2 separate regions of the Homo sapiens genome follow, and region 1 is linked to region 2. The links are contacts of gene promoters, found by promoter capture Hi-C in human tissues and cell types (Jung and others, 2019). All regions are on one chromosome and are shown on one strand. The core of a region is centred on a gene start or on the middle of the fragment in contact, and the rest is flanking DNA. Distances in the headings are between cores, read along the strand shown.

Region 1 (5,495 bases), core at 2,682-5,181, 790 kb after region 2:
CCCAGTTCCCACCCCCAGACCAGCCCCCTTCCAATGTCTCATGGACAATAGGAGTTGCAAATACATTCTTCACCCTTTCAAGAATCCAAAACATATATGTGGAGTTACACGCACACACCTTGCAAGGACGAATATCACTTCTCAGGAGCAATGCAGCCTTAAACCCAAGGAGAAGAACAGAAGCATTCTCCTATCTGCCCTGTAATCTGCAAGCCCATCCTGTCCCAAAGAACGTCAGAAGCTGCCATTGTATGTAGAGCTTTCAAAATAAGCCCACTCCCAGGACTACCAGAGTTAGGAATTGTACCCGTTACCTGGGCCAAGACGCAGTAGAGCTTTGAAATTCCTTCTGATGAATATCTAAGTTCTTAGGGTAACAACCTATGATATGAGAATAGAGGAAATGGGGTCATTCTTTCAGATTCGGATATTTATTATATGAGTGAGTAAATGGATGAGTAGAGAATGGATGACTGTATGAATAAACACCATAGCCAGGCCCTTGACAAGGCCTGGAGGAGGAATTACAATCAGTCAACAGCCATTTAATGAGCACTTCATATATACAAGATCCCAGCCTAAGCAGCCTCAGAAAACCTGAAGGTGTAAGACAGGACCCTTTGCTGATAAGCATCACCACTCAATCAGGGAGTCTAGAAAGATTCAGAAAACAGACTCTGTGATACTAAGGAGCATGTGCTCTCTGTCACTATTCCAGAAGCCTCGGCATCCAAGCTTGCTAGAACCCAGAAATCTCAGAGAGGTGGCCTGAGGCCCACCCAGTGGACTCAAGAGGCTCCATTAGCTTGAGCTCAGTCTGGCGTCTGAGACATTGCCAGTTTTACAGCAGCCAGGGCTCCAACACTACGGAGTGTGAGGGTGCAGACTGGATGGTACAGGAGCAGAATTCTGTTGGCAGCAGAATCCCATCAACACCCAAGAGTCTGGTCCAGACCCTGGAGGTGTCAGTCTAGGCAGAGGGGCTAGAGGAACAAGCAGGGCAAGGTGATAACGTGGCAGTGAGATGGACACAAGTGCCCTGGTGTCCACACTCGACTCACATGGGTTTGGTGGTGGGGAGAACCAAGCTCTGGGGGACACAATCTCATCACCTGCCCATAGCCATGATTCTGTGACAGCAGGACCAGCCCCAGCCCCCACGTCCTGCCCATGGCTAAGGTTCCTAATGTGCTCTATCAGCCTGTGATCTGGGCTAAAAACTCAGCGCCTCCAGCTGGCTTGGGGGTGGAGAGAGGGGGAGTACCCAAGTGCTAAGAAAGTAGCTCCAACAAAACCTGCTTTCCACGGTACCAAAGGAGAACTCAGGGAGGGCTGAGTGAAGAGAGGAAGGAACCCGAGAAAATTTCCTGGAAGAGGTGGATTTAGTGAGAAAAGATCAGGTGAGAGGAAAGTGTGTTTTTCATGTGGACCTGGGGGAGCCTGGGCCTCCGAGCCTCACTTCTGGAAACCAAGTCCAGTAAGCATGAAGCCAAAATTTCCTGGGGCTCCAATCCAGCATGTCTCCACTTTTTTCACACTGCAAAACCCACAATGGTTGATGTTTGATGTAGGACCCACTCCCATAGGTATGCCTAGATTTGCGATGACGTGGGTGGCGGTGATCTGCAAATCCCAGCACGCAGGAACACCTCTTCTTTTTCCCCCACTCATAAAGCATCTCAGAATGCAAGCAAGAAAGAGAAAGATCACGTTACAGGGACAATTCTGAAGGCATGCTAATTTATAGCAAAAATAATTTGCCAAGTAGTACTTTAGTATTCATAATGACTGACTCCTGGCCCATTGCTTCACTGTTTGTAGTAACACAAAGACCAGGAACAATTGCTACCTCCTTTTTTCTCCTCTTTCTGTTGTGGGTCAGGGAGTTCCCCATAAACAGATCCTGAGATAAGGATGTGTCTGAAAGTAGGTTACTAGGAAGTGGTCCCAGGGAAAATGGGTACACAAATAGAGATGAGGGAGAGGAAATAGGGAGGGCCGATCAAGGGTGTGAAAATCCAGCAAAGTTCCAAGAGAATAATTTTGGCTAAGTCCTGCAGGAGAGTTGTGGAAACATAACAAGTCACACCTGGGAGTTTTCCCCCTGGGGGCAGGCAGCTGGGCTTTTGACACCTCTGCACCTGCCAGTCATCAGTTAAGGGCTGCTCCTGGGACTGTCTTTACCCAGGCACTTCTGGCTCTCCGTGCACTCAGGCAAAATGAGCTCTGGCAGCCTGAGGACAGCCTGCCTACAAAGACTCCCAGGTGTTAGCTGCTGGGAATGAAAGCACACAGGCTTCATTCATTTCCATCCAAGAGGGTTGAAGGAGTCTCACAGCATCTACTGAAATCTCATATCCTACGCCGCAGTAGGCACCTAGTAAATGCTGGTTGCTTATTGGCTAGCAAAGGATGCATCCAAGAGAACAGGACACAATAATCACGTGCATTAAAGCTGACGCGGGGTGGGGGGACCCCACCTATTTGGTTTACCACCGTATCCCTGGTACCTGGCACAGGAACCTTGTACACAGGTTTGTTAGATAAATGATAAATGGATCTCCCCATGGTGATGTTGTTATCTGAGAGCTGCTCCAGGTCTCCCTAGTTCCCCCCATCAGTTCTTGCCTGACTCAGCTGATGCTGCCTGAGACCACAGAGCTCAGGAGGAGCTCACTGGGGCTTCATCACATGGTGACCCACCTCACTGAGCAAGTGCCACCCAACTGTTAGGCCCAACATCTGCCCTGTTCTCTCTAATCAGATGCTTTTGAGGACAAGCAGTGTGGCTCAGTAGACACGATAGGTGTGGGCTGCAGACCCAGTACTTCCTACATTTAATCTCATTTGAACCTACAACAAAATTCATGGTAGGTATTATTACCTTCCATTTTGCAGATGAGCTTTATAAGACCCAGAGATGGTTTGTGCTATTAAATGATAGAATCAGCATCAGTCCAGATTTACCTAACTCCAAGTTCTAGGCTATCGATCTTACATCTTAAAGCTCAGGAGTGAGGGAGTTTCTGATGTGACAGGCTTCATACATTGACATCTGAAGATGGACAACCACCTTTCCAGTGCCCAGAAAGTCACCCATCCACAGGCACAAGGCTCACCTGAGACTTCGCTCAACTCCAAATTTAGGGCTGGCTCCAAAGGCGTGCGACCTGTGTAGTCACACAGGGTCCTGCGCTTAGGGCCCACTCTTGGTTTAATGCTCTGCTGTTGCCATCTTGAAACACTTAATTTTTGAACAAGGTCCTGTGTTTTCACTTTGTACTGGGCTGTGCAAGTTATGGAGGCAGCCCTGTCCACACTGCTTACCCAGTGTGAACAAACTTTCAGCATTCTAGGACATTCTCAAGAACCTGAGGCAGAGGATGAGCCCTGGAGCCCCCCAAATGGGTGGGGAAGCTGTGGGCAGGAAAGCCCTTCCATACATGTTGGGTCAGGACTGGATAGAACCAGCCGAGACCTTCCCACCAGCTCCAAGCCAGGAAACCCCCACTCAGTGGTAAACATCTAAGTCCATTAAGTGGCAAAGACTTGGAGCACAGGTAAAGACTGTGGGGCACAAAGAAACTACAAACCTGTTCTGCCTAGGGGAGGATAAATCAGGAGAGGCTTCTAGAGGAAGGCAACCCCTTAACTGTTCAAAGAAAGAAATGAAGAAGAGCATTCCAGGTGGAGGGTGTCGTAGAGTTAAGGTACCAATGTGTCCTGCGGGTGGCTTGGCATATCGTGGGGGAGCCAGGGGAGGGGCCTTAAGAGTTAGGGCTGAACAGGTGGGCAGAGGCCAATCAGGTAGACTTGACTTTTCCTCCTCCTCCTCTGGTTTTCTTAAATATTCATGCACACACCATGCACATTCTCCTGGGTTAGTCTCCATTTCCACCCAAAATCTTGCCAGATGGCTGGGAAGCATTTATATGAGAAGCTTTATTTTCTCCAGCTAGGCGTTTATCTGCTCTTCCACTCTACTGTACAGGACAGGTGATGTATTAACACACCCCTGATTTCTTCACATTGATAACGCCACCTAGTGGCCACCTGTCACACTTTCCCATTCCTCCAAATTGATAGGCAGAAAAACATGGGTGAGATCAGGTAAGATCATGCTCATCCCTTGTCCTGCTCCTGTACTTCCTAGAGTTCAGACGACCTCCATAGGAGAACCCTTTCGACCTGTACAACAGTCCCAAGGTTCAGCAATGACTCTCAGATGATGCCCTAAAAGCACCTCACACTCTCACACCAGAAAGGAAAAGCAGGAAAATTAGCTCTAGCAGTCCCTACCTTCCCTCTGCTCCCTGGGCCAATGTGAAGAGGATCCTTCAGTTCTGAATGTGGTGCCCCCAGCACCATACAGACAACTACAGAGGCTGCTGCTGTGCCTGAGGTTGGAAAAAGGTGGACAAAACAGCACTCACGACTCATGGGGCTTGGAGAGATTTAACTTAGGCATCTTTAAACAATCAATGATGCTAACAGCAATAACAAGCAGAACAAGGAGGAGGAGAAGGAGCTATTTCTTGAGAGCCATTCCCTCTATCAGACAACCACACTAGGCCTTTTACACTTCTTCCTTGAATGCATTTTTGTAAGTTCATTAAATCTTTCCCACTGCAAGGAAAGCTTCAGATGGCAATTAACATGTACTGGGTGCCTACAATGTGTCAAGCAGTTTCCTAGGCACTTTGAATGCATTTGCTCATTTATTACTCACCACAGTACAACAAGAGAGGTACTGTTAGTATCCAATTTTCAGGCGGAGAGGCAGGCACTTGCCAAGGGCATGTGAGGTAGCAAGCAGATGGAACTGGGAGTTGAAGCTGAGCAACCTAGTTCCAGGCTTGCACGATTCATCACTACCCAGACTCCCTCCTAGGCTGAGACAAAAAGAAAATGTGTACACCCTGTCCTGGAATTTACTGGTCTACTTAGGAAGAGAGATATATAACTGAAGATCCATAAGGCATTCACTTATTTACTCATTCTGCAAACTTTCCCTCAAGGACATCTTACACCAGGTGTGGATGAGTGTGTAGGTGTTAATTCCCTCAGTCTGGTGGGAAGAGAAGCTAAGCCAGGTTGTACCTGCACACCAGTGATTCAGGATGAGGCAGCAGGCACTGGGACTCACGGGATGAGAAACAGAGTTTGGGGACAGCTGGCCAGGCAGTGCCCAAGCCCTGGTCTAATGGGGTCTGAAGAATACCTCTCTGCCCAGCAGATAAGGAATTCTCAGCAAACTGCTAGCCCTTATTATATCTAAAAAGCTCCACCGATTCTCTTCCTTTAGCTTTATCCCTCCTACCTAGGAAGAGAAGGTGAATACTGTCTGATGGGTGGTCAAGCAGGACCTAGCCTCTTGCAGCAAAAACAGAACTAGCTCTTCCTGGGTCCAAGGCTCCAGATAAACTGGCCTGAGCTGCCATCTACCGGCCAACTGTGCACACTGCAGCAGATACTGCCAAGGCCACCTTCTTGAC
Region 2 (5,989 bases), core at 1-2,500:
CCACGTTTATAATCTGTGATGCCTTTATAATCAGCATATGGCAACTGGCTAGACAGTCTCCTCACCACACAGAAGAGTTTTCAAAATAGCCTACCCCTCCTTTCACATTTATGTGAAATTAGCATTGTCACATTTCCTCCTTCATTGACTACTTTAGATCAGAGAGACACACTGTAGCAGAAGATCATGAAGGAAGTTGTCTTAAAGAAGGAAACTAACATAAATTAAGCATCTCATATACACCCAGTGCTTTCTTTCCATTGTTCTCTCTTTTAATCCTCACCAAAACTGGTGAAGTCGGTATCATCCATTTTATAGATGAGAAAACTGAAGCCGGGTAAGGGGAAATGGCTCGCACTAAGTCCTTTAGCCAGCAGGCAGCAGGGCTGGAGTGGGAATTCCTCCAGTCTCTTCCCCAAAGCCCTTCCAAGTTGCCACTCAGTCAAACTACCGCTCTCATCACATAAAAATGCCCTTCTCTTGGAAATGTGCTTGCCATCACGATCCAAACATTCGAGGGACAGAAATCTCTTGGACCGCAATCACTGCTATTTTTTAAGTGATTGTTATCACGACTCAGTAGCTGTTACCATGGTTTTGGGGAAGTTGTCCGAGGAAGGAGGGCCTTTCTTTGGGCATCTTGCATGCCTGAAGAAGGAACTCAAGATCTCAGCTCTTAATTACTCTGATTGTGCTGCAGTAGCAACTTGAAAGAGACCGTCCCTAGAAAAGTGTTGGGGTGGGGGGTGTGGAGTAACATCCAGCGAGCAGGCAGAAGGGAGGCCCTGGGCGCCAGAGAGACCCAGGGAAAGGCGAAGAGGAGGGAGAGGGGACGAGACCGTGCTACGGGGAGCCTGGAGAGAAAGCCAAAGGAGGAGGAAAGAACAAAAGGCAAGAGGAGAGGAAGTACAAGAAAGTCCAGAAAGGAAAAGAGAAAGTTTCAGAAAGGGGAAGAGAAAGCAAGCAAGGAGGGTAAAAGAAGAAAGAGACCAGAAAGATACCGAACTGAGAGAGCTCGGAGAACTCGAGAAAGCAAAGGAGGTAAAAGGAGAGAAGATGGAGAAGGCGGCGGAGAGGAAGGGGGAAGGAGACAGAGGAACCGAGACTGGGGTGAGGGAGCGGCCGCGCGTGGCCCCCGGAGAGGCGCCCATCACCTGCGTGGCGCCCCCCCGCGCCGGAGTGCGGCCCTGCTCCCAGCGCCAGTGCGCCGCGCGGCTCGCCGGCCTCGTAGGATTGGCTACCGCCTCCCATTCATGTAACCTGCGTGTGCGTGTGCGTGTGTGTGTGTGTCTCTCTCTCGCTCGCCCTCTCTTTCTGTGTGTAAGAGAGCGAGGGTGGGGGACGGAGGCAGGCAGGCGAGCAGGCAGGGAGGGGAAGAAGAGAAGGGAAGCTATTAAACACACACACACACACACACACTCACACACGCGCGCGCACACACCCGCCCCAACCCCCCAGAAGCCTCGGGATTGCAGCTGTTTCATGTGGGGCAGCAGTGCTGGCAGGGACGCCGGCCGGGAGCGGCCGGGAGCGGGAGCCGGTCGTGCGCGCGCGGCTGGAGGCTCGCTGGGGCTCCGCTCCCCGCGGGAGCTATTGTTGGTCTCGCTGGAGCTGAGCGCAGAGCCCGGACCTGCTCCTTCCTGGGCGCCCCGCTACGGCTCGCGGAGCAGAGGAGCCGCGCCGCCGAGAGAGAGAGGAGCCACCGGCGCGGCGCCTTGCCTCCCTGCCGCCGTCCTCGCCGCTTCCCCGGCGGTAGCAGCCTGCAGCCACGGTAAGGCGGCGTGATCCGCTCTACGGAAAAGCGCCTTGGGGACCGCGGCGACGCCTCGCCAGCTCCATCGCCCTCTGCACTGCTGGCCCGGGCAGGGTTCGGGTAGCTCACGCGGCTGCCGAGGGCTCCGGGAGATGTTTGCTTGCTCCCCTGGCCCAGGAGGAGGGAGGCTAGGGCGCGGGTGGCCGAAGAGGCAAGCTGTTCTGGAGCCTGGAGCCGCCGCAGCCCCCGGAGCCCGCCGCGGACTGGAGCCTGGGAGCAAGGGTTGGGGGAGGGCAGGGAGGTGGGAAGCGGGTGGGAGGGAGGCGGCGCGCCCCAGGTTCGTCTGCCTCTCCCGGATCCCGTTCCCCGCCCCGGCCCGGTCGCCTGCAGCCCCTCTGCAGACTAGCTCGCCCCAGGCCCCCGTCGGGCGCTGGAGGAGCCCGCGAGGCGGCGCCGGGCTTCAGCGGCTGCAGCCTGCCCTGCGGGGCAAGTGCCGGCTGCAGCAGCCCCGCACGGGCGGTGGTTGGAGCTCAGATCCTGGAGATGCGACCCCAGCTCCTCGCCCTCTGCAACCCGCGGGGCGCCCGCCTCTCCTCACCGGGCGCCCGGCCGCGGTATTGATGTTCGTCTAGGAGCCAACTGAGGCTGCAGCCGCCAGATGGACGCTTGGAGGGCTCCCGGGTGTGAGTGTGACTGTATGACTACTCTCACCCCCAGCTTCGGGAAATGTGCTCTGGGTTGAAATGTGATCACCGAGCTCCTCAGTCATTTTAATTGCCATTTTTAAATGCGGTCGTTACATTGGAGGAGCAGACTGGAAGGTAGTGGGGCGGCGTGTGTGTGTGTGTGTGTGTGTGTGTGTGGACACACACACGCAACCGAGGAATACACAACCAACTACTTGGGTGAAGGGCGGGGGGTTCACCTAGTGAGTCCTTCTTGGCGGGGGGGTCGGGCGAGTTAGCTGCCCGCTGCCCGCCCCTTCTCTGCCTGCCCCCGCCTAGGCGAGGTTGGAAAGTACTGGAAATTCAGCTGCGTGGTCCTTAACTTTGGAAATTGGCTCCGCTTTCAGGGCAAAATGTTAAGGCGATTTATGCACCCGCGTCCATGTGGATGAGTGTATTACTGCTCAGTTGGGTGCAGAGCCCTCAACAGTACCGCGCCAAGCCCCCACCCGATCTCTAACTCCCTCCCACCCCCTAACCGTGGAGAGAGGGTTTATAGAAATGCAGTTATCTGTAAACCATCGACGCAGTGAAAGGGGCGCAGGGAGGCAGCCAGAGTTTTGCCTGAACCTGCATACTGGCTTGGTGTTTGTAGCACACGAGATCACCCCGCTGCTTTGTAGAAGGCGGTGGTGGGGCAAGCTCGGGATTCCAATCGCCGGGGTGGGGGGTGGGGGGAAGAGGGTGCCCATGTACTGAGCTCTGAGGCCGAGTAAGGAGAGAGATCTGCTGAGCGGCATCGCGGGCAATTACATAAGCTGCCTCGGTGATTACCCGGAACTGTGATGCGAGCTCCCGGTTCTCGAAAGACAAGCCTGAAAGTTTGCCTGCTTGGGGAGTGTAAGTACCGGGGCGCCCCCACCCCGGCCTGGGTAGCTAGGATACGCCTCGCACCACGGCGCCCACTTGTGCGATGGGCGTCGGGTGCTGATGCTGCTGTCCCCAAAGAACCGGTTACCGAGGCAGGGACTAAGTGGGGGCATCCGGAATTGATCGCAGAGGAGGAGTCAGTCAGAACTGAGGTTTCATTGGGTCTTCAGAGCTCCAAGTCTTCCCTCGGAGGTGTTGGAAGGCCTTCCAGGGAACGCCGTTTTCAGAAACTGACTTGGTGTCCTGGGGAGCCCCAAAGCCCCTCTTTTCCGCCCTTCCTGGGCGCCCCTCCTTGTCTTTCAAGCCCTGTGCCCTTCACGTGTTTAGAAACCTGCCCGCGGTGCCTGGTCCCCCTTGGAGATGCCCAGGCAGCCCAGCCATCCAGGCCCACGCTGGCGAGGGGTTAGAGGGAGTAGAACGCTGGCTCTGCCGGGCTGCCACCCTTACCTACACCTATTCCTGGTTTCCTGCGCTAGCCCGGCGCTGATGGGGACGGGATGGGGCTGGGGTCGGGTATGGCTTCCGTTCCTTCGCCTCTCGCCTCTGCAGACAGCAGTTTGCTTCTGTTGCGTTTATTCTCCCCGTTTCGCCGCTTCCCTCCAGCGCCGCAGCCTGTGTATCACGTTGATGGGCTTTGATAGAGAAACCACAGTAAGAGTATGCTTTTAAATCTTGATTTTCGTCTGTAGGGGGATAAGCCACCCCAGCCCTGACACAGCCGTGGGGAACGCTGAAGTCTGGGACACATTGGCCCTGAACTCCCTTCCCCCCAGCCCGCAGTCAGGAGATGGTGATGTGCATGGGTGGGGAGTGTTTTGTTTTTGCCACATTCCAGCGTCCTGAAACCTCTCGTCCCCTCCCACTGAAATCCCCGATCTGTCTGAATCTGTTCCTTGCTGTAAAATAAATCCTCCCTCCCGCAGACCTGTGGGGCCCTTCGGATTTCCTGCCGCTGCCATGATCCTTAACAATGCGATTGAAAAGCCAGTGCTCGGCTGGAAAAAAATCCCCAGGTGCCAGCCGGCCGCGCCTTGACCTTGCTGAAGGAGCCTTTAACCCGGCTGCCAGAGGGGCTCTGGTCCAGCCGTGGGAATCCAGGAAGAAGGAGGGCGCCCCGGAGGCGGCTGGGTTAGCTCCCCGGGCAGGGCGGGAATCAGGTCGCGGCGGGGACCGCAGAGGGGGAGGGGACGGGACTCCGCGGCAACCTGTTTCCCGGCGAGCCGGGCCCGCGCATCCCAGCTCCCTCGCCCCAGCCCCTCGTGGCCCGCCTCCCCCGCCGGCCTCCAGTTGTCTTCGTGGTACAGGAGTCGGCCGCGACTCCCTCGCGCTCTCCGCCGGAGTCCGCGGGACGCCGCCAACTTTGGGCTCCTCGGTGGCCGGAGCAGCGGTGCGAACCAGCGGGGCGGCCGGGTGGGCGGGGCCTGGGCGGGAAACTGGAGCCGAGAAGACCGCGTTCCAGGCCAAGTTCCAGCCGCAAGCGCCGCGCGGCACAGTGCAGGGTCCCGGCCGCGCCTTTCTCCCGTCCCCGGCCCGGCCGCGTTCCTGCGGACTCACAGCGCGCTCCGGGCGCTCTGCAGTTGGGCTTTCAGCGGGGGAGCCCTTCTCGTCAAAGTTACGAGGGGTGTTTTCACTGGTGGTGACAGTGGGAACTAGTTTTCTGCGCGCCTGTGTGTGTGTGTGTGCATGTGTTGGGGAGCAGAGAGATTTGCAGCGAAGTCACACATAGCACAAAAAACAGGTTTCCCCTTTCCAGGTGTTATAAGGGAATGCTGAGGAGGAATCCGTTTTCTCCGGTGAGGGTGTTGACGGGAAGCCCTTCCACTTAGTGGAACTGGACCTGTTGGAGCTGATTGCCTGGAGTGAACGGGTGTCTCCTTTAGCGGCACCTGTGTGCCGTAGGTCCTTGGAAATGTTTGGGGAACTGAAAGTCCTCAAGATATTCAGCCAGGACTTAGGGCATAGATGTTTGTGTGCTTTTAGGGGGCTAATTCGGGGAAGCTTTTATTTCCAGCATGTGTCTTGAACTGAGGGGAGGGCAGGGTGCGGAAGGCTTGTGGAATTGCCATCTTCTGTGGTGGGGGAAGGGATCAGGGACGGAGAGCTTTGGTTTTCTAGAAAGAGTTCTTGGGTTCTTCCTCTGCTCTCATCTTGTTTTCATCAAGGCCTCTGTTTGGGGGTGGAGGTAGAGTGGTGCGGTAAGCGGATCAGCCACCCTAATAGACCGGCCTTGACCAGTGCGGATGCCAACGGGCAGAACTAGTGCTTGGTCTGAACAAGAACCATCAAAGGATAGTTCTATAGTGAGTGGAGTGACCTGGAATATGAGGTAGAAGGCTAGGTGTTAGAGTAATGGGTTCCCACGGACTCTCTTCCAATAGAATCTGATTCTATTTGGTATAGTCTCCTCAATCTTTTGTGGTTTTGTGGGAGTAAGGTGATAGGATGTGACTTTAATCTCTTAACTATTGGGTTGGAATCATGGCTCTGTGGCCTTAGGCAAATTGTCTTTGGAGCTTCAGTCCTCTCCCCTGTAAAATGGCACAATATTACTTAGTTTGCAACACTGTCAGGGTTTTTTTTTATGATCCAGTCTATAAACTTTATTCAGATTTTTCCAATTGTCCCAATAACGTCCGTTATA

The links. The method cuts DNA at HindIII sites, captures the fragments that hold promoters and counts their contacts. A contact is called where the count stands out against the background at its distance.
Region 1: a contact is called between a fragment that was not itself captured here and the fragment with the promoter of TENM4 in region 2, in 1 of the 25 tissues and cell types used here (dorsolateral prefrontal cortex).

Annotation. Positions count from the first base shown.
Region 1 is chr11:78,645,346-78,650,840 of GRCh38, reverse strand. No RefSeq gene overlaps it. Among named protein-coding and RNA genes, the nearest start is that of NARS2, 73 kb to the right of the region's middle. The HindIII fragment of the contact is 3,185 bases long and covers 2,339-5,495 here.
Region 2 is chr11:79,436,291-79,442,279 of GRCh38, reverse strand. TENM4 (teneurin transmembrane protein 4) reads left to right here and starts at 1,250. Exons shown (of 34, transcript NM_001098816.3): 1 at 1,250-1,771. RefSeq lists silencers at 1,122-1,291, 1,552-1,661. The HindIII fragment of the contact is 13,466 bases long and covers 1-5,989 here.